Linked DNA regions of Homo sapiens: all the other regions are linked to region 3. The links are contacts of gene promoters, found by promoter capture Hi-C in blood cells and fetal thymus (Javierre and others, 2016). All regions are on one chromosome and are shown on one strand. The core of a region is centred on a gene start or on the middle of the fragment in contact, and the rest is flanking DNA. Distances in the headings are between cores, read along the strand shown.

The links. The method cuts DNA at HindIII sites, captures the fragments that hold promoters and counts their contacts. A CHiCAGO score of 5 or more calls a contact.
Region 1: a fragment that was not itself captured here is called in contact with the fragment with the promoter of WDFY3-AS2 in region 3 in 1 of 17 cell types (erythroblasts); the score reaches 5.6 in erythroblasts.
Region 2: a fragment that was not itself captured here is called in contact with the fragment with the promoter of WDFY3-AS2 in region 3 in 2 of 17 cell types (neutrophils and endothelial precursors); the score reaches 6.3 in neutrophils.
Region 4: a contact is called between a fragment that was not itself captured here and the fragment with the promoter of WDFY3-AS2 in region 3, in 1 of 17 cell types (erythroblasts). The highest score is 5.4, in erythroblasts.

What each region holds. Positions count from the first base shown.
Region 1 is chr4:84,619,062-84,622,038 of GRCh38, reverse strand. CDS1 (CDP-diacylglycerol synthase 1) reads right to left here. Exons shown (of 13, transcript NM_001263.4): 5 at 2,506-2,645. Among named protein-coding and RNA genes, the nearest start is that of CDS1, 37 kb to the right of the region's middle. The HindIII fragment of the contact is 2,723 bases long and covers 1-2,685 here.
Region 2 is chr4:84,666,204-84,668,932 of GRCh38, reverse strand. No RefSeq gene overlaps it. Among named protein-coding and RNA genes, the nearest start is that of CDS1, 84 kb to the right of the region's middle. The HindIII fragment of the contact is 2,623 bases long and covers 62-2,684 here.
Region 3 is chr4:84,964,281-84,967,172 of GRCh38, reverse strand. WDFY3-AS2 (WDFY3 antisense RNA 2) reads right to left here and starts at 1,557. Exons shown (of 4, transcript NR_152775.1): 1 at 1,315-1,557. It overlaps WDFY3 (WD repeat and FYVE domain containing 3), which reads left to right and starts at 483. Exons shown (of 68, transcript NM_014991.6): 1 at 483-964. The HindIII fragment of the contact is 8,814 bases long and covers 1-2,892 here.
Region 4 is chr4:84,546,343-84,549,252 of GRCh38, reverse strand. All of the region lies in intron 3 of LOC102723338 (a long non-coding RNA gene), which reads left to right. Among named protein-coding and RNA genes, the nearest start is that of CDS1, 35 kb to the left of the region's middle. The HindIII fragment of the contact is 1,552 bases long and covers 550-2,101 here.

The DNA.
Region 1 (2,977 bases), core at 75-2,574, 340 kb after region 3:
TACAAAGAATACCAAGAAAATGCACAAATGTGCTTTGATAAACACAGAATCAGAGTCAAGTGTTTTACTCTCCAAAATTTTAGTATGGTCTTCTTAGCTGATAACAATCATAATCTCTCCATGATCATAATCCTTCCAACTGGTCAGAATTTAAAATGGACCAACTACCATCATATGAGTACCAGTAAAAGAGTAGAAATTTTTCAATACCTATTTCTAGGAATGTACTTTCTATAGATATAGCAGTGAAAAGTTTTTTTAAATGAAGGAACAAATTTGGAAAGCTGAACTGAACAATAAACCTGAATGAAAGGCTGGGTGCAGTGGCTTGTGCCTGTAATCCCAGCACTTTGGGAGGCCAAGGCGGAAGGATCCCTTGAGCCCAGGAGTTCGAGACCAGCCTGGGCCACATGGGGAGACCTAATCTCTGGGAAAATAAAATGAAATTTAAAATTTTAAAAAGTAACAAAAAACCTGAATGTAAAAGGTGGAAAATTATTCGAAAATGTATTCCTCCTCATTACATAAAAACAAGTTCTCTGAAAATTCCCATTACCATTTCAGATTGTATTTCACTTTCTGGCTTTTTAGAATTAGAAGGCCTAGGAACTGAAGGAGCTGAGGGGCACCAAGAAGAACATCATAACTATTTAATGAAATAGCATACTTCTACAGGACTGGACATGCTTCCCCACATACTCTGTATATTTTTAAAGAGAAATGGAAAAGAATTACCCAGTTTCTAAGATTGTACCAGGAGAAAAATTCATTTATTGGGAAACTCCTAGGAGCTAAAACAATAACTAGTAACAGCTAAGGTGAAAACTCACAAACAAACTTCATGTCCTTCTTTTAAAGTGAAAATAACAATAAAAAAAATTTAAGTAGTGCCAGGTACTATTCTAAGTGCTTTACAAAGAAACTGAAGCACAGAGAAATTAATTAAATATCTCATTTTTGTTTGTTTGTTTGCTTTTTGAGATGGAGGTTCCCTCTTGTTGCCCAGGCTGGAGTGCAATGGTGTGATCTCGGCTCACCGCAACCTCCGCCTCCCGGGTTCAAGCGATTCTCCCGCCTCAACCTCCTAAGTAGCTGGGATTACAAGCATGCACCACCATGCCCGGCTAATTCTGTATTTTTAGTAGAGACGGGGTTTCTCCATGTTGGTCAGGCTGGTCTCGAACTCCCAAACTCAGGTGATCCGTGCACCTTGGCCTCCCAAAGTGCTGGGATTACAGGCATGAGCCACCACGCCCAGCCCAAATATCTCACTGTTTACTCAACCAGTAATTGGTAGGTCCAGAATTCAAATGAGCAATCTGGCTTTTAAAAAGCACATTTAAAAAAATCAATTGCTTAGGGGTTTTTATGATCTGTAAAATTTCATAGAAAAGATATCTGTAAATTCTAACTTTATCTTAAGAATCTAATTTTTAATTTAAAAATTACAAAAACATGTGGCATAGCATACTATAAACAGTTGCATATATTATAAACTATGTCTAAAAAACTAATTAGGCCAGGCGCGGTGGCTCATGCCTGTAATCCCAGCACTTTGGGAGGCTGAGGCAGGCGAATCACGAGGTCAGGAGATTGAGACCATCCTGGCTAACACGGTGAAACCCCGTCTCTACTAAAAATACAAAAAATTAGTCGGGTGTGGTGGCGGGGGCCTGTAGTCCCAGCTACTCGGGAGGCTGAGGCAGGAGTATGGCGTGGACCTGGGAGGTGGAACTTGCAGTGAGCTGAGATCACACCACTGCACTCCACCCTGGGCGACAGAGTGAGACTCCATCTCAAAAAAAAAAAAAAAAAAAAACAACTAATTACCCTGATTAGTTCTACATGAAAAAGCTCTATTTCCTAGGGACAAATAAAGCAATATATATGTGAAAGTTTTTTCATAAATTAAATTTGGTTAATAATTTTTATTTACTTAAAAGTTTTTTTACTACAATTTGCAAAGAAAATTTTCAAACATATGGAGTGATTCTTTCTTTTTTTTTTTTTTTTTTAGATAAGAGTTTTGCCCAGGCTGGAGTGCAATGGCGTGATCTCAGCTCACGGCAACCTCTGCCTCCCAGGTTCAAGCGATTCTCCTGCCTCAGCCTCCTGAGTAGCTGAAATTATAGGCATGTGCCACTATGCCCGTCTAATTCTGTATTTTTAGTAGAGACGGACTTTCTTCATGTTGGTCAGGCTGGTCTCAAACTCCCGACTTCAGATGTTCCACCTGCCTCAGCCTTCCAAAGTGCTGGGATTACAGGAGTGAGCCACCGCACCCGGCCTGGAGTGATTCTTAACAAGCACTTTTTAAACCCACTATAAGGGAGTAATTGCTATTTAAGAACATGATGAAAGAAATAGCTTTATACACAAGAAACAATGAAAAAGAGAGGCTGGAATAAAATTTAACCAAAAAATTACTAATTAAAATAACAGAAATAAAAATAAACATGGAAAATATGTTAACTATATATCAATACAGAATATTCCTTAACTTACCTGCCAGATAGAGGGCAAATGATATAAATCTATGGTAGCGAATGAGGAACTGAAGTTGTTCTTCTCTTTGAACAAATGTAGCAAAATAATCAGCTACAGTCTCTCCATAGAAAAAGTAGTTTACACACAATAGAAAGTACCTATAATTTAAAAACAATTAGCTTTTCTATATTTGAAGCTTTCCTTCCCCTCAAACTCAACAAAATTATTTTCTACATTCTGATGACACAAAGATCAAAACAAAGTTCAGAAGACCAATTCAAGATATATTTTACCAAAATGCTATTTTCCTGTTTTAAACTTAATTTCAAATTTATTGATTAGCAAAAATTTACCAAACATAGTTCATACCTTTATTTAGCTGAAAATCTAATGCCAGAGATAATTAGGAAACAATGTAGAAAATACTACACACACACAATCCCTCACCCTTGGGAGGCGGGAGCAGTGTGTGTGTGTGTGTGTGTGTGTG
Region 2 (2,729 bases), core at 124-2,623, 300 kb after region 3:
TTAGGCTGTTTTGATGATTTCACTTTCCCTCTTTCTAAAGATATTAAATTCATTTTAAGCTTGAACAGCAGAGCCCCAAATTTGAGTATGTTTTGCTTATTACAAATTTTACCTTACTGCAACTCTACTTGAGTGGCAGAAGATGAAGGAATGCCAAGAACTAAAACAACAGCAATTTCTTTAAAAAATTAAAAAAAAAAATGGTAAAAGAAACCTTAGAGCAGCTCCCATGTTATTAATGCTTTATTACTTATAGTTCTGGTGACGGGTTGCAGTCAAGGATGGACACTGCAGAATTCTCAGATGCAGAAATTCAGAGTTTAAAAGAACAAACATGCAAATGATTTTCAGTGAGTCCCTTGTCTGCCATTTGCTTCTCATCTTCAACAGAATTTTCCCTCCACGCCTCACTTTTGACCATTTGATGGACTTGGCCCAGCACTTGGTTAGTCTCTTTGCTTTATGAATATTCTCATTTCCTCCCACCTATTATAAAGCTCTTTTTTTTTCTTTTACTTTTGCTAGAGACAGCACCAAGCCAAGCTACCACAATAGCATGGTGTTTTGGAGATCCCTGATTTGGAATTACCACTGAGGCTTCAGTTCTAACCAGCTTGGGAATTTAGGAAGCCTCTTGTTTTAGCGCTCACTCTCTCCATAGGGTTTTCCTACATCAGTAGTTGCCTGTGAGGATGGGAATGGTCTAAGTGCTTCTTTAAACTTTTTGGTCTGAGAACTCTTTGATCCTTAAAAATTTTCAAGGAACCGAACAGCTTTTGCTTATTTGGTTTATATCTATCAGTAGTCATTGTATTAGAAATTAAAACTGAGATTTAAAATATATATGTCAACTCATTTAAAATAACAATGATAAGACCATGATGTATTAACATAATTACATATTTCTATAAAAAGTCTTTTACAGCCGAGTGCAGTGGCTCACACCTGTAATCCCAGCACTTTGGGAGGCAGAGGCGGGCGAATCACCTGAGGTCAGGAGTTCAAGACGAGTCTGGCCAACGTGGCGAAACCCCGTCTCTACTAAAAAATTAGCCAGGCATGGTGGCATGCGCCTGTAATCCCAGCTACCTGGGAGGCCGAGGCAGGAGAATGACTTGAACCTGGGAGGTGGAGCTTGCAGTGAGCCGAGATCACACCGCTGCACTCCAGCCTGGGCGACAGAGTGAGACTCCGTCTCCAAAAAAAAAAAAAAATCTTTTCCAAACAAAAAAAACAGGTTTTTTTGGCAAATTTACAACTTTTTGCAAATCTCTGTAATGTCTGGCTCAATAGAAGACAGGTGGATTCTCAAGTTTGCTTCTACATTCCATCTGTTGTGATACTTTGTTTTGACTGGATTTATGGAAAAAGACAAATCTGCATGGTTTTGGCTCGTTTCCTGAACTTTGTTCTCCAGCTATCATTTTGTGAAAAGTATGTCTATCGCACCCCTACTATAGTCACATCAGGAATATACTTTGTTTTGGTTGAAGCATGAAGAAAATCCAACCTCACACATGTATTGGTTGAAAAGGGGGTGAATATTTTTAATTTTTATGAGCTCATAAGTGTATATATTTATGAGGTACATGTTATATTTCAATACAGGCATACAATGTATAATAGTCACATCAAAGTAAATAGAGTGTTTACCACCTCAAGCATTTATTGTCCCTTTCTGTTAGGAACACTCCAATTCCACCCTTTTGGATATTTTAAAATATGCAGTAAATTGTTGACTGGAGTCACCCTGTTGTGCTATCAAATACTAGATCTTATTCATTCTATGTGACTATATTTTTATACCCACTAAACATCTCCACTCTCCACCCTCCTCCCTGCTACTCTTTGTAGCCTCTCGTAACCATCATTCTACTCTGTCTCCATGAGTTCGCTTGTTTTAATCTTTAGCTCCCACAAATGAGTGAGCACATGCAAAATGTCTTTTTTTTTAATTTGCCTGGCTTATTTCACTTAACATAATGTCCTCTAATTCCATCGATATTGTTGCAAATGATAGTATCTCATTTTTATGGCTGAATAGTATTCCATTGTGTATAAGTGCCACATTTTCTATATCCATTCATCTGTTGATAGACTCAGGTTGAGTTGAAATCTTGGCTATTGCAAATAGTACTGCAGTAAACATGGGAGGACAGATATCTCTTTGATATACTGACTTCCTCTCTTTTGTGTATATTCCTAGTAGTGGGATTGCTGGGTCATATGGCAGTTCTATTTTTAGTTTTTTTAGGAACCTCCATACTGTTCTCCATAGTGGTTGTACTAATTTACATTCCCACCAACGGTGTAGGAGGGTTCCCCTTTCTCTGTCCTCACCAGCATTTGTTCTTGCCTGTCTCTTGGATAACAGCCATTCTAACTGGGGTGAGAGGATATCTCCTTTTGGTTTTGGTTTGCATTTCTCTGATGATAAATGATGTTGAGCATTTTTTCATATACCTGTTTGATATTTGTATGTCTTCTTTTGAGAAATGCCTATTCACATCATTTGCCCATTTTTTAATAGGATTATTAGATTTTTTTTCCTATTGAGTTGTTTGAGCTTCTTATATATTCTGATTATTAACCACCCTTGTCAGATGAGTGGTTTGCAAATATTTTCTTCTATTCTGTGGGTCGCCTCTTCACTTGTTGATCATTTCCTTTGCTGTACAGAAGCTTTTTAACTTGATGTGATCCCATTTGTCCATTTTTACTTTGGTTAT
Region 3 (2,892 bases), core at 308-2,807:
CGTGGGCAGTTCTTTTATACTCTGGCTAGAGTAAAATTAACGCACCTTTGCGTTTCTCCATCGCCTCTGACAGCATCCAGCTAAAGGGTGTAGGGTTAAGGAAAGCGGAACCCAGTTGTCCTTTCTCAGCTGAGTCCTTTCAGAAACTGGGACTGAGGAGGGTGAGCGCCGCGGAGAGGGGCAGGGGTGGGAGAGGAGAGAGGGGCGCGGGGCGGGGAAGAGGCGCGTCTGGAAGGCAGTGGGGAGAGGGACTGAGAGGAGTGGGGTTGAAGTCCAGCTGGGAGCATCCAGCGGCGCTGTCTGCAGACAGGGGCGAAGGCAGCCGCTGAGAGTGAGGCAAGAGCGGGAAGCCGAGGGAAGGGAAGGAAGTAAGGAAAGAGGAAGGAAAGGCAGGAGGGGGTAGAAGCTGAGCGGCTGCAATTTCTGCGGCCGGCTCAGTAGGAGGAGCAGGAGGGGAAAGAGGAGGATCCAGTCAGTCAGTCAGACAGCCAGCGGGAGGTGGAGAAAGCAGGAGGAGGAGGAGGATTAAAGATGGCCACCAACAGCTGCGGGAAACGGCAACAACCCCTCACTTTCCGGGATGGTCCCTGCGGGTCGGCCCGGCCTTGATGGAGAGAAGAAACCCGAGGAGCGCCGAGGCTGAGGCGGCGGCGGCGGGGACCCAGCGAGGACGAGGACGCGGCGGAGCAGGGACGGGGGCAGGAGAAGGGAAAGGCGGCGGCGTCGCTGCCCCTGCTGCCTAGCACCGCTGCCTGGCCCGGCGGACCGGTTCCCATACCTCGCGGCCGCAGAATCGAGCTCGGGCCCCGGCCCCCGGCCCGCGGCGCGGGGCTCCCGGGCCCCGCCGCGGACGTCGCGCCGGTCGCCCCTTCCCCGTAGCCCGTGCGCCCTCGGCGCGGAGCCCCGGCCCGCCGCGGTCCCGTCTCCTGGGCCTGTCCCGCCCGCGCCCTCCGCCGGCCCTCAGGTGAGTACCCCCGCCATCCTCCCCGCCCCCCGCGCTCCCGGAGAGGCGGTGCTGCCTCGGCCCGGCGCGCCTGGCCGCTTTGTTCGTGCGGGGCGGAGGCGCTGCCCACTCGCGGCCCTGCGCCCGCTCCCCCTAGGGACAGGCCGCGGCCCAGCTGCTGTCCTCCCCAGGGTCCGCCTTGGCCGGGAGCCGCCGCCGCCGCCAGGGTGGGCGGCCTGGCCCTAGTCCTCCGCTGCCTCCTGGGGAGGGCGCCGTCGCGGACGGGTCGGGGTCGGGGTCACGGGCGGCGAGCGGAGCGGAGCGGAACCGGGATATTTCGGGGGATAGGGGAGGAGAGGGCTGGACGTTACCTGTGGGAAGCAGTGGGGGCGTAGGCGGCCCTGGCTCGCAGGGGTAGGGGATCAGGCCCTGGCCCCCCCCCGCTGCATCCTGCGGGGTCTCAGCTCCCGGAGCCACCCGGACCTGAGCGCAGCCGAGCGCGGCCTCCATCCCTCGGGCGCTGTCTCCAGGGCTTCGGGCCTCTCCCCCTACGCCCTACGCTGGAAGCCCTTCGATTATGGAAGGAGCCAGAGATGCTCCAGTTCTCTTGTACTGGGGATGTGGTGGCATCGCAAACATTCACAGTTACGGCGGGATTTAAGAAGCAGATGAGACCTTTCCAACCAAAGGCCATCTGGCTAGTGTTTGAGCCTCAGGTGCAGTTTTTCATTGATTTTTACCATTTAATTGTGAGATCTGCAATATCAGGTCTTCCTTTCACAGAAACAATGTGATACAACCAGATTGAAAGGATATTTACTGCATATGTGAACCCTTGCATGGACTTCCAGTACCTTAAAAATGGTTAAGTGTTTTCTGTTGGAAAATGGTGCTCATGCATACGAAAAACTATTTTTGTTCAGTAATGGTTGCCAACTGGTTTACTATGTAGTTTGAACACCAAACAATTAAAAAGGAAAAACAAAACCCTATTCTTCGGGCTTTTTAAATAGTGGCATATTTCCAGGTTGGTATTTGGTAGCAGGTTGAGAACAACTGGTTTCGACTATCAGGCGACGTAACAAACATAACATAAAACAGAACTAAAAATGTGCTAATTTATAGAAAAACATGTTGTATTAGTGCATAAGTCTAGTAAAAAAATCCGACTTTAAAAAAAATAAAACTTTATCATGAGACTCTTAAGTATAGGAATTAGGTTGGTATGTTTTTATGTTTAAAAATATATATTGCATTAGAATTGAGAACTCTTCCTATGATATTTGAGCAATAGTAAAGTATGTTAATACTTTGAACCATTCTATCTCAAGCTGCTAGAAAGAGGTTTCTACTGCTAGTTTCTTTCCATGAGTTAAAATGGATTCATCTGAAATATATGTATGCTTTTGGTGGGTCACAGTGGGTCATGCCTGTCATTCCAGCACTTTGGGAGGCCAAGGCTGGGGGATCACTTGAGGCCAGGAGTTAGAGACCAGCCTGGGCAACAAAGAGAAAACAATTTTTGTAAAGAAAAAAAAAAATGTTTCAAAAAATTTGTATCACCTCCAAAAAGGAGGGATAAGTTAGAAAATACAATGTTCTACTCTTGCATAATCTGTTTTTGAAAAAGTAAATGACAGTATATTTCAATATTAGTTGGATTCTCTGCTTTGAAGAGATTCTTAAATTCCACTGCTCAACTTTGCAATTTTAAAAGTTTACATCAGTTGTTCTTAATTTATTTATTTATTTCTTTTTTTAGAGACAGGGTCTTGCCCTGTTGCCCAGGCTGGGGTGTAGTGGCACGATCACGGTTCACTGCAGCCTTGAACTTCTGGGCCCGAGTGATCCTTCTCCCACAGCCTCCCAAGAAGTTAGGACTACATGTGCATGCCACCATGCCTGTCTAATTTTTCTATTTTTTGTAGAGATGAGGGTCTCCCTGTGTT
Region 4 (2,910 bases), core at 76-2,575, 420 kb after region 3:
CAAGTGGACAGGTAAAATTAACCATCACTCTACTCTTTCTTTTTCTTTCGCCAAAAGCCTCCTAGCATCTTCTACCAGTTTGCATATTATAAAGAGAATTAGGTTGATTCTTGGAAACTTGAAACTCATCTTAGTGATGTGTATTAGTTCTTATGCTCTCATTATTAGACTCTCACATTAGCATGGCCTAATTTCTACTACCAGGAATAAGATGTGTGCTGTGCTAATGGGAAATGATATATTTAGTGTTTTGTATGATCATTCTTTAGGGTCTGTGTCCCTTTAATTGGATGAGAGCCCACGCGGAGTGGGTAGATAATAGTGTCCTTTCTGCTTACCCCTGCATTAGGAATAAAAGAGAAAGAAAATATGTGTGTGCTCAGGAAAAAAATCCATTATTTTTGATATTCAAGATATTATAATCAATATAATAACTTTCAAGTACCTTCCAGTTAGTAAGCTTTTCAGAGTATAAATTAATTCCATATCAGCTGAAACCAGTGGCTTTTCCCATGTTGGGTTCAATTGTAGTTATGGATGACATAAGCTTTTCCATCAAGTGTAATAACTAAGTTCTAATTTTGTTGGCCAGTGTAACTTTAACACAATAACAAAACATAATTAAAAATAAGGGCTATTTTTTTCAGACCTTATATAAATATATTGTGCTTAGCAGATAGATAACATTTTTGAATTAGAGGAGTTTTAATTAATTCAATGCTTAAGTACCACAAGCAATTTAATTTTCACAATATGTTAAGTATCCATATTCAGTTTACAAAATACCACAATTGTGTGAAATTGATCTTTTGATTCATTTGATTCATCATGACATTTCTCTTTGTTACATGAAAAAATATAACATTTTGAAGTCAATCTATGTTTCCTTCCAAGATTAAGAAAATGGCAAATGATGTAGACCCTTTAAACATATGGACCAAGTCTCCCATTTCTCCAAACAAGAGACTTATGATATTTTGGTTTGTCTGAGGAAGAAAGCTGGCTGTTGCTACCAGGGTGAACTAGGGAATAGCCTGGTCTACTCCAGTTGAGGAACAGCTATAAGGTCTCTTTGGTGCTCTGTTGGTTCTTTTAGCAATAAGAAGGGCAAGTGATCATGAAAGGACTATACTTCATTCTATTTTCTGTAGCTCTTTGAGTGGTTTATGAACATAGCCCATAATAGCATAAGCTGTTATGGAACAGCTTACACTTGTGACAAAGAGAATTCAAAGCCATATAGTTTACAAAAAAATAAATACAAATAGACCTAAACATATAAAGAGAATATGCAAATTAAGGGCATGCAAATTAAAATTATACTAACATACAATATTTCACCCTGATAGGCAGAAAGCCAAAGGTGCAATAGTTCATTCTGTGGGGGAGACTTTGGAGAAACAGTCACTATTGCTTGTTGCTGTTAGGATTGCAAAATGGTATAACATGTGTGGCAGGGACACTGACAATATCTAGAAAACAGTGAAATGCATTTATCTTTGGTGCAAGTTATTTTATTGTCTCTTCTCATACCTCTTATCCATTTTTTTGCCCTTCCCCACACTGCTCTGGACCATGAGATACTACTAACCCTTTTGGAAGGCCTCACTCATGTTTCCTTGCAACTGCCTTAAACCACTACAATAAATGAGTAGTTTAACAGACTGTTCAATTGGTGGTGCCATGGATTAAGTCCACTAGCCATTGTGGGATTCTAGCCTCTTGTCTTTCATTAAACCTCTAAAGTTCTCACATGCTGAGGCGAAAAAGTTTCCTAGAGTTCTGAAATACAGGTCTTAAATTCCTGGTCTCTGTCACAGACCAATTGCATCAGAATCTCACGTGGGAGGGATAGCAATCTGTTGTTTTCAGACTCACTGGGTTGGGTAACTACTGATCAAGATACAGCACAGTTTCTCACATTGCTCCATTTGTTCTAGATCACTGAGATGTTAATGTGTAGTCCTCTAAAATAATGACAGCTGGAATAAGGAATAACAGCAACACAAAACTAATGCTCTAACAATAGCGAAACTTTGTGGTGTTTACTATGAGGCAGGTACTGCTGCAAATACTTCACTCATGCTAACCCATTGAAGCTTCACAACTACCCAATAAAGTAGGTGCTTTCACTATTGCAACTTTTCAGATGCAGAAACTAAGGCACAGGACGATTAAGTGACTTGTCCAAGATGCCACAGTTACTAGAGGCAGAATTTAAACAAAGGAGGCCATATGGCTCTGGAGTTTGTGTACTAAAACTCCTGTGGTCTAACATTTTTGGGAAATTCTGCTCTTTTTTTCGGATTTATAATGTAATAATATATTGGTGCAAGCTTTGAGAGGTATCTATAAATAATCCCTCTTGTAAGTAATTTTATTTCTCCTTCGCTTATGAAGCTTAGTTTGGCTGGATGTGAAATTATGGGTTGAAAATTATTTCTTTAAGAATGTTGAATATTGGCCCCCACTCTCTTCTGGCTTGTAGGGTTTCTGCAGAGAGATCCGCTGTTAGTCTGATGGGCTTCCCTTTGTGGGTAACCCGACCTTTCTCTCTGGCTGCCCTTAACATTTTTTCCTTTATTTCAACCTTGGTGAATCTGACAATTATGTGGCTTGGGGTTGCTCTTCTCGAGGAGTATCTTTGTGGTGTTCTCTGTATTTCCTGAATTTGAATGTTGTTCTGTCTTGCTAGGTTGGGGAAGGTCTCCTGGATAATATCCTGCAGAGTGTTTTCCAACTTGGTTCCATTCTCCCTGTCACTTTCAGGTACACCAATCAATTGTACATTTGGTCTTTTCGCATAGTCCCATATTTCTTGGAGTCTTTGTTCCTTTTCATTCTTTTTTCTCTAATCTTGTCTTCACACTTTATTTCATTAAGTTGATCTTCCATATTTGATATCCTTTC